2 separate regions of the Homo sapiens genome follow, and region 1 is linked to region 2. The links are contacts of gene promoters, found by promoter capture Hi-C in human tissues and cell types (Jung and others, 2019). All regions are on one chromosome and are shown on one strand. The core of a region is centred on a gene start or on the middle of the fragment in contact, and the rest is flanking DNA. Distances in the headings are between cores, read along the strand shown. Region 1 has its middle 500 kb from the start of SNORD151. Region 2 holds the start of IGFBP3 (insulin like growth factor binding protein 3).

What was found. The method cuts DNA at HindIII sites, captures the fragments that hold promoters and counts their contacts. A contact is called where the count stands out against the background at its distance.
Region 1: a contact is called between a fragment that was not itself captured here and the fragment with the promoter of IGFBP3 in region 2, in 1 of the 25 tissues and cell types used here (lymphoblastoid cells).

What each region holds. Positions count from the first base shown.
Region 1 is chr7:46,960,382-46,965,622 of GRCh38, reverse strand. No RefSeq gene overlaps it. Among named protein-coding and RNA genes, the nearest start is that of SNORD151, 500 kb to the left of the region's middle. The HindIII fragment of the contact is 3,930 bases long and covers 937-4,866 here.
Region 2 is chr7:45,917,569-45,922,629 of GRCh38, reverse strand. IGFBP3 (insulin like growth factor binding protein 3) reads left to right here and starts at 1,358. Exons shown (of 5, transcript NM_000598.5): 1 at 1,358-1,892. The coding sequence starts at 1,490. RefSeq lists enhancers at 394-974, 975-1,555. The HindIII fragment of the contact is 8,943 bases long and covers 1-5,061 here.

The sequences.
Region 1 (5,241 bases), core at 1,652-4,151, 1.0 Mb before region 2:
TCGTTTCTTTTCTTTTTTTTTCTTTTTATTGCTAATCGAACAACCTGCTGTAATAACAGATTTTCTGTTTCTTCTTCAGTCTGTTTTGGTAACTTGCATGGTTTAAAAAATTTGTTTATTTCATGTAAGTTATTGAATTTTTTGGCATTCAGTTGTTCATAGAATTCTCCTATAATCTCTTTTATTTTTATAAGGTCTATAATAAAATCTCCATTTCCATTTCTGGTTTAGTAATTTGATTCTTCTGTCTCTCATTTTTCATCAGTCTAGTTAAAGCTTTGTCAATTTCGTAGATTTTTTTCAGATAACTAGCTTTTGTTTTTACTGATTTTCTTTATTGATTTCAAACAACTTAGTTTGCTCATTTCTGCTCTCATCTTTATTATTTTATTGATTTTTTTTCCCTTTGGGCTTAGTTTACTGCTCTTTTTCTACTTTTTTAAGGTGAATGGTTAGGTTAGTGATTTGAGATCTTACCTTTTTAATGTAGGCATTTACAGATGTAAATTTTCCTTTGTGTACTGCCTTCACTGTATCCCATGAGTTTCTTGTGATTTCTTCTTTGGTTCATTGATTATTTAGGGGTGGATTATCTTATTTTCAAATATTTTAAAATATCCCATATTGCCTTCTGTTATTGATTTCCAATTTCATTTTATTCTGGTCAGAAAAGATGCTTTGTGTGATTTCAATCTTTTAAAATTTAGTGAGACTTGTGTTGTGGTGTAACATATAGTCTATCCCAGAGAATGTTCCATGTGCATGCATATGTGATTTTGCTTGGTGGAGTGTTCCATAGATGTCTGTTAGGTTCAGTTGATTGATAGTGTTGTTAAATGCTCTATCTTCTTATTGATCTTCTGTCCGGTTGTTTTATCTATTATTGAGAGTTGTGTATTGAAGTCTCCAACTATTACTATATGACTATTTCTCCCTTCAATTCCATTAGTTTTGCTTCATGCATAGTAGCGTATTGCTATTTGGTTTATATATGTTTATAATCATTATATCTTCTTGATGAATCAGTTTTTTCCATTATAAAATATTTTTCTTTGTCACTCTGGAAAATTATGTCTAATGTCTATGTTACCTCTTTTGGTAATTGTATGAAATATCTTTTTCTATCATTGTACTTTTAACCTATTGTGTCTAAAATGAGTTTGTTTTAAATAGGACATAGTTTGATTTTTCATAGTGATCTTTGCCAGTGTTTATCACTTCTTTGTGTGACTTTAAGTTAATGTCTGCTATCCTTTCATTTCATCCTAAAGAATGTCCTTTAATGTTTCTTTTTCCTTTTTTTTTTTTTTACAGGTAGTCACTGTATTTTATTGAAAAGCATTGATATATATTTTTCTTCTCTGCTTGAACTGAACACAGTATTGCCCAGTTTTAAAACAAAACAGAACCAAAACATTCCAAAAATGTCCACAGACTCATGCCTCCCACTGTGTGCCATTTCTTTCTCTCTCCCATTAGTGTTTCTTTTCATACAGTTCTGCTAGCAATGAACTTTATTGTATTTTATTATTCTGGAAATGTCTTTATTTCTCTTTAATTTTTGAAGGATAGTTTTTTTTTTCTGAATATAACAAGCTTACCTGACAGTTTTTTTTTTTTCCCCACAGCACTTTGAATATGTCATCCTATTATCTTCTGGTCTTCATAGTTTTCAAATGAGAAATCAGCTGTTAATTTTGGGAGAATCCCTTGTATGTGCTGTGTCATTTCTGTCTTTGGTTTTTGTCAGTTTATGATGTGTGGATCTTCTTCATTTGGTACTACCTATAGTTTTTAAGCTCCTTGGATGTGTAGATTAGTGCATTTCATCAAATTTAGGAATTTTTTTTGACAATTTTTTTTAAGTATTCTTGTTGCACCTTTTATTCTTTTCTTTGATTCTGGAACTTCCATTATGCATATGTTGGTATGCTTAGTGGTTTTCTACAAGTCCTTTAGGCTCTGTTCAATTTTTTTTTCTGTTCTCCAGACTAGAAAATTTTCTTTGCCCTATCTCCAAATTTACTGGTTCTTTTTGTCTTCTCTTATCTGCTGTTGAACCCCTCTAGTGAATTTTCCTTTTCAGTTATTCTTAAGATCTGTAGTCTGGTCCTTTTTATAATTGCTATCTCTTTCTATTTGTAAAATATAGAAATTTCTGTAATATTTATATCTCCTTATTGATATAACTCCTTTTTGGTGAGAAAGGATTTTATAGTGTAGGTTTTTAGACATGTTTTCAGACATATTTTCTTTTTAGTACATTGAACATATTTAAATTAGCTGACTTTAAGTCTTTGTCTAGTAAATTCACTCTCTGGTCTTCCTCAGAGACAATTTCTATTAATTTTTTTCTAGACTGAGGAGGTACATGTGCAGGTTTGTGATGGGTAAATTGCATGACACTGAGGCTTGGGCTTTTAGTGATCCTATCACCCAAGTAGTGAACATAGTACCTGATGGGTAATTTTTCAATCCTTGCCACCTTCCCCCTTCCCTCCCTACTTTTGGAATCTCCAGTGTTTTTTGTTCTCATCATTGTGTCCTTGTGTACTCAAAGTTTAGTTCCCATTTATAAGTGAGAACATGTATTATTTGGTTTTCTGTTTCTGTGTTAATTTGCTTAGGATAATGGCTTCCAGCTGCATCCACCTTGCTACAAAGGACATGATTTCATTATTTTTATGTCTGCCTAGTATTCCATGATATATATGTACACTTTCTTTATCCAGTCCACCGTTGATGGGCACCTGGGTTGATTGTGTGTTTTTGCTATTGCGAACAGTGCTGTGATGAACATACAAGTGCAGGTGTCTTTTTGGTAGAACAATTTATTTTCCTTCAGATATATACCCGGTAATGGAATTGATAGTGAATGGTAATTCATTTTTAGTTCTTTGAGAAATCTCCTCAGAGATTTTTGAAAACTCTACAGGGGCTGAACTAATTTGCATTCCCACCAGCAGTGTAGCATTATCTTTTCAACTAATAAGCACTCTCTTTTTTCCCAAACCTTGTCAATATCTGTTATTTTTTGACCTTTTTTTTTTTTTTTGATAGTCTTACTCTGTCACCCAGGCTGGAGTGCAGTGGCGCAATCTCAGCTCACTGCAAGCTCCGCCTCCCGGGTTCACGCCATTCTCCTGCCTCAGCCTCACGAGTAGCTGGGACTACAGGTGCCCGCCACCATGCTTGGCTAATTTTTTTGTATTTTTAGTAGAGACGGGGTTTCACTGTGTTAGCCAGGATGGTCTCGATCTCCTGACCTCATGATCCGCCTGCCTTGGCCTCCCAAAGTGCTGGGATTACAGGTGTGAGCCACCATTCCTGGCCATTTTTTGACTTTTTAATAATAGCCATTCTGATTGGTGTCAGATGGTATTTCATTGTGGTTTTGATTTTCATCTCTCTCATGATTGGTAATGTTGAGCATTTTTTCACATTTGTTGGCTGCTTGTATATCTTTTTTTGAAAAGTGGTTATTCATGTCCTTTGAGGGGCAATGTATATTAATAGATGTTTTTCTGTTTATGTTTCTTATTTCCTTGCATGTCTTGTAATATTTTGTTAAAAACCAGCATATTTTGTATAATATAAGGAGGAAATTCTGACAATCAGGTTCCTTGTTTTTTTTCATAAGAATTTGTTGTTGCTGCTTATTATAATTATTATTTTTCTGCTTGTTTGTTTCATGACTTCTCTGAAGTAATTTTGTATAGACTGTGTCTTTGTTGTGTGTGACCACTAAAGTCTCTGTTACAGTAGCTTAGTGGTCAACTAATTATTGAGCAAAAGTTATTTTGATGCCAAAACAAAAACTAAACCAAAAACTTATCATATTCTTTGCAGAGGGGCTTTATGTGTACAGTGGGCATGCCCTCAGCCCGTACTCAAGAAGACTACAACCATGCTTTAGGCTTAACTTCCTGCTTTTACAGCCCAAAGGTCAGCAGAGATGACAGATTAGAGTCTTCTCAGGTCTCTCCTGGGCAAGTGCACAGCTCTAGGCATGTATGTGGCCTTCTAGATTTATATATATGTATATAAAATATATAGAGCTTTTCAAAGCTCTTATTTTTCAAACCATTTTATTCCCCAACCCTTACTTCCAAATTTTTAAAATATTGTTTTTTTTCTCAATTTTTATCCATTGCCTTAGGAAAAACAACCAAAACATAAGTTTTTTTTTTGGTAAAATTTTGAAAAAATATTCCTTAAGTAACAGTTACAGCACTGGGTGAGCTCTGAGTTAGGCAAGATCAAGTTGAGCCTTTTGTGCTAGTTTTCCAGGAAGCTACCAGACAATTATAATTTATTTTATCTTATTTTATTTTGAGACGTGGTTTCACTCTGGTCACCCAGGCTAGAGTGCCGAGACACAAACATAGCTCATTGCAGTCTTGACTTCCCAGACACGAGAGATCCTCCCACCTAGTTCTCCAGAGTGCTAGGATTACAAACCTGAGCCACATGATTGGCCAACAATTACAATCATTTGTGACTGAAATTAATTCTGCCCTCTCTAGTACTGGTGCTGTGAATGCAGACTGTAATTTTCAAAGCTACTGCTAAGCTGGGGAGTGGAGGCTGAGAGTAGGAGAAGTTAAATTATCACAAAGCTCAATGTTTTTACTGAAATAAGATCCATGTTTCTTAAATAAGGGTTCCTCTGGTTTCTGAAGTTTTAGTTAGTTTCCAAAGTTACTAAAATTTGACTGACACTTTTGCCAGTATTTTTGTTACTTTTTAAGAGTCATTTTTTTTCAGTTTCTTACTCTGCTATTTTCAATGCCATCACCTAGAAATTCCCTTGAACTTCTAGATAAATATCCATATCATCTCATAATAAAATCAGGTGTTCTTTGCTTTTATGTATTGCTTTACTGCAATTGCTAGCAACTGAGCACCATCAAAAAATTAGCTGTGATAGTTGTGATTAAATGGTTATTCTTCTGGAATGTCACACTCAGTTTTGATGTGTGCTGTAAGTCTAACTGAAGACTTTGTATCAAGTCAATAAAGCTCTCTTCCACATCCAGTTTATGACTGTTTCTAATCATGAAAAACATCTTAGGAGAGGTGCTATGAAAATGGACTCTTAAACCAAACCTGGCTTAAATTTTGGCTCTCCCATTGTTATATGGATGACCTGTGGTAAGTTACATAAATTCTTTGTGCCTCAATTGCTTTATCTTAAAAAATATCATTTCTTTTCAAGTATTCTACTTATTAGAAATTATA
Region 2 (5,061 bases), core at 109-2,608:
GAGACAGAAATGATGAATGAAGATTAACTTCACCCAAGGCTTCGTGCTGGAGGGGAATGGAGGAGCTCCTGATTTGCTATTACTACTCCAAACTGCAAAGGGCTCCTTCAAGTCACCTATCCACCTCCTAAGGCAAGCGTCCAATTTCAACAGCGTTCAGGAAAGTCTCCTCCCGCGGAGGTCTCACCGCTTCCCACTCCACCCCCACAAACTCTTTGGAAAAGTGCCTTGAAAAATTTAATCCTCAATCCAATCCTGGACCACCAGCGTCCTCTGTTGGTCACCGAAGGGAGGGGGTGCGCAGACAAAACTGAAGAAACTCGAGTGCCAGAGAAGGCCGACAGGAGTTACAGCGACCTCAGCGCGCAATTGCGCCCCCGAACTTTACTGAAAAGTGTTTAGATTGCAGAGATAAGCTAGAATCCCAACGCATCGAGAATACAGTAATACGAAGTCGCCTTCAAAAAATGACAATGAAAATTGCCTATTAAAGGACTATTTGGTTAATTACGTTTCAGCAGTGCCCAGTTTATTGTCTTTATTATTCTTTTGTCATGGGTGTAAACTCCATTTGAAAACATAATCAGGGAGAATACCCAAGACAAGAAGAACAGTTGTCATTTAAAATATTTGAAAAGCCCTGCCTTAAGGACGCATTCGCTTGCCGGTCCACTCTTAATTGGAGACTTGCGGTGTAGCAACACGTGAGAGTCTTCTTGCGTTGAGAAGTAAGCCTGGAAAGGGGCGAAGGCCCCGGGCGCATCTTCAGATGCGTATTTGTGGGCCCCTGGGGATATAAACAGCCCAGCGGGTGTAAATTAAACCCCGCAGTGCCTTGGCTCCCTGAGACCCAAATGTAAGTCAGAAATGTCCCAAGACTTCGCCTGCCAACGGAATTAAATTTTAGAAAGCTCCACGAGGTACACACGAATGCGGAGCGCTGTATGCCAGTTTCCCCGACACCGGCTCGCCGCAGGGAGACCTCACCCCGAGAGCGGAAGGGGTAAGGGCGGCGGGGTCAAGGAGATCGGGGGTGCTGAGTTGGCCAGGAGTGACTGGGGTGACCGGGGGTGCTGAGGTGGCCTGGAGTGCCGGGGTGGCCGGGCACACCTTGGTTCTTGTAGACGACAAGGTGACCCGGGCTCCGGGCGTGCGCACGAGGAGCAGGTGCCCGGGCGAGTCTCGAGCTGCACGCCCCCGAGCTCGGCCCCGGCTGCTCAGGGCGAAGCACGGGCCCCCGCAGCCGTGCCTGCGCCGACCCGCCCCCCTCCCAACCCCCACTCCTGGGCGCGCCGTTCCGGGGCGTGTCCTGGGCCACCCCGGCTTCTATATAGCGGCCGGCGCGCCCGGGCCGCCCAGATGCGAGCACTGCGGCTGGGCGCTGAGGATCAGCCGCTTCCTGCCTGGATTCCACAGCTTCGCGCCGTGTACTGTCGCCCCATCCCTGCGCGCCCAGCCTGCCAAGCAGCGTGCCCCGGTTGCAGGCGTCATGCAGCGGGCGCGACCCACGCTCTGGGCCGCTGCGCTGACTCTGCTGGTGCTGCTCCGCGGGCCGCCGGTGGCGCGGGCTGGCGCGAGCTCGGCGGGCTTGGGTCCCGTGGTGCGCTGCGAGCCGTGCGACGCGCGTGCACTGGCCCAGTGCGCGCCTCCGCCCGCCGTGTGCGCGGAGCTGGTGCGCGAGCCGGGCTGCGGCTGCTGCCTGACGTGCGCACTGAGCGAGGGCCAGCCGTGCGGCATCTACACCGAGCGCTGTGGCTCCGGCCTTCGCTGCCAGCCGTCGCCCGACGAGGCGCGACCGCTGCAGGCGCTGCTGGACGGCCGCGGGCTCTGCGTCAACGCTAGTGCCGTCAGCCGCCTGCGCGCCTACCTGCTGCCAGCGCCGCCAGCTCCAGGTGAGCCGCCCGCGCCAGGTGCGCTGCGTGCAGCACCCGGCGCACTGGCGCCGAAGGGCCTGGGGGTTGCTGGGTGCCGCTGCGGGAGACTCCGCTTTTCTTCTCACTGGAGATAATATGTGGGGAAACTGAAGGCGCTCCGGGAAAGGTGAAGGCGGTCGCCGGAGGGACCCTCCCCAGCCGGCCCTCTACTTGCTCGATTCTCTAAGTGCAGAGTACTTGTAAATTGCAAAGCGCTTTCAGTGAAAATGGGTTAAAGGTTTCCGGAGCTGAGGGGAGCGGTACCGATGTTTAGCTGTTGGAAAGATCCTGGACACAGGAGATTCTCCTCGCCCCGCACGGGGGTGCACACGGACTGCAATCCCAGGGATGCTTGGGGATGGGGGGGATATAGGCGGATTTGGACCAAGGAAGGTGGGCAGGCACGTTGTAGGAAATAGTACCTCTCTTTTAAAATACTGACTTTGCACAGCCTTTTGGTTTGCAAAGCAATGTCTAGTCCCGGTATGTCCAAAAACAAGTAAAGTGGATTCGGGTTTTGATATCTTCTGCGGTTGGAAAACCTGAAGCTGAAAAAGAAGTAACTTCTTAAGGTTACCCAGCGGCCACAACAGAGTGTAGGTTTGAACTCCGCGTGCCACTTTCAGTACCATACCATTCTTACAACTCGGGCCACCCCTGCACCTGCGCCGACCTCAAACAAACTTCCAGGTGCGTGGTGGGTGCGGGCAATGTGGACTAAGTCAATTTCAATGACACGGAAGGGAATTGGAATCAGTCCTAGGGCTGTCTCCCTTCTTAATCTGAAATGGGGGGGGGAATGAGATGTTGTTAAGGGGAGCCCCAGAAGAGGAAAAATGCAAACATTTGGCAGAGTTACCCTCTTGGCTTAGCCACTATCAGTATCAGGCAGACAGCGACTCTGGTAAGGGCATCACATTGTTCCCTTAAAAAAAGGAGCGGGGGTTGTTTAAATGGATTTGGCAGCTGTTCTTTCAAGCATTCTTAGCCAGCCTCACCTAGTTATATGAGAAATAAAGTTCCTGCCTTGCACAGCTGAAGGCTGGGAGAATTCTCCCCATCCTAATTCCCCCAACTCCCCAACGATCACGTTGGACAGATGTCACTGGGCAGGCCCCCATCTAGGGCTAGCAGGATGAACAGTCCCTTTATAATTTATGTAGCTGTAGAGTTCCACGCCCGGGTGAAGTTATTTTCTGGCTCGGCAAGGCTGGCTCTGTTCACCCCTGAGAAATGCTGGATTCATGGAAAGGCAAGATGCCTGAAACATACACTGGCTCTGGTCAGCTGTTAAAGCTGCTGGAGGCATTTGTCTCTCGGGGCAAAGTTATGTCATTTGCCAAGTGTCGTACATTATTGTGCATTTTGGGGTATTCAAAAAGTGATCTTAGAAATACTGATACACATCGTCATTCTTGGGCTTTAGCAATCATCATGATTACCACCTTAGTAGCACTGTAGTATAGGTTGATGTGAGTTATAAGATTATAAAAAGATCTAAGTGACTTCTAGAATCTATTTGACAAAAAAAGGTAAATTTTCGACAGTCAAAAGTCACAATTATCTGTTGCTTAAATAGAACTGTTTTGTCTTCATGCCCTAGTCTGCAGCCCAGGCATTAAGAAGAAACCAAGGAAATTTAAGAAATTACTCAAGGTTCTTAGAAAAGAAGTATAAATACGTTTATTTACATGTTCTTAGAGTATTTACATTCTTAGTATCTCTTTTATCTCAGTATTTCCTTGAAAAAGAAAGCAAGCTAAGATTAAAAGAAATTGAAACCAAATCCTCGCAGGTAGGGACCTCCTCTGTGAGGCTCTGTGCTGGACCCTGGGAATGTGTGCTTCCCAAGGTATGAAACCCCTTGGGGAACTTTACAGCAGGACCTCAGTGAGCTGTTTGGCAGGTGAGGAAACTAAGACCCAGAGAGGAGAGGGACTTTCCTAAGGCCCTGGTGAGTGACCTGCCAGTAGCCACTTCCAGGGGAGAGCAGAGCATCTGCAGCCAAATCATTGCAGCCCCAGGTAGCTTTCTAGAATAGACTGTGGACCAGATGGGCCACCTGAGCTCCCTGCTAGGGTTACACATTATAGCCCTGTTTGTTGTAGTAGAGAAATTTCATGACTCTCAATTGTGGACTTAAGCCGATGCCTCCAGACCTTGGCATGGTCCACAGGCCCTGGGAGCATGGGCTCTGAATGTAGCCTTTGATCCCCATAGCGGTCTTACAGCCCCTCCAAGTTCATTCTGAAGAAGGAATGGAGTGAGAATCCTGGCTGCAGATCCAGTCTTGAATTTAGTCATATACTTAAAATTCCAATTCAACTGTTAACATTCCAGCATCCATTTTAAGCATCAGACTTTCTTCATTTAGCACTTTTTATTATAAAAGGGAGATCTGCTGGAGGGGGATTTCTCCTACCCCACCCCCACCCAGGGAAGGAAAAGCTCTTTGGCACTTAGAAGTCTGAGCCGTGAGTGGGACTTTGGCATTGTCTGCATCCATGTGCTGCTGTGTTCACCCGGGGTGAAAAGGACTCACTTAGGCAGGCACCAGCAAGATGCACAGGGTCTGTGTAGACCTTGAGTTTTAGAGATGTAACGGGGACCTAGAAAACAAGCCACCAACATGCTTGCATGATTCTGAGCCCCTGAGGCAAAACGCTTTGCAGGTAATAATTCAGTTTTCCCATCTGAGCTGGACACCAAGCTCTTATAAGCGTGTTTACCTGGTAGCATTGAGGACGGTACTGGTCAACCTTGGAATTCCCATAAGGGCTTGTTACAACTCAGACTGCTGCCGCCACTCCAGCGTTTCCGGAGTGGAGAATGTGCATTTCTTCCAAGTCCCCGGGCTGCCGCTGCTCCCGCGGGTGGGAGGACCACACTTGGAGTTGACTGCAAAATTTCTGAGCCGGCGCTGCAGCAGCCTCCCGTGGCTCAGGTCTGCCCCCTGCCGGTGGAAGATGAAGCATACTGCCTTCACCTACTGAGGGGCACTGAAGCGTTTGTCTGCCTTCTTTAGTTGCAGCTACTTAGGAAGAGCACCTGTCAGATTGACTTTCAAACAGATAACTTCTTGAGGTAGAGCAACCACCATGTAGTGAGTAGTATGATGGAATAATACTTCATCGAGGTATTTTAAAAA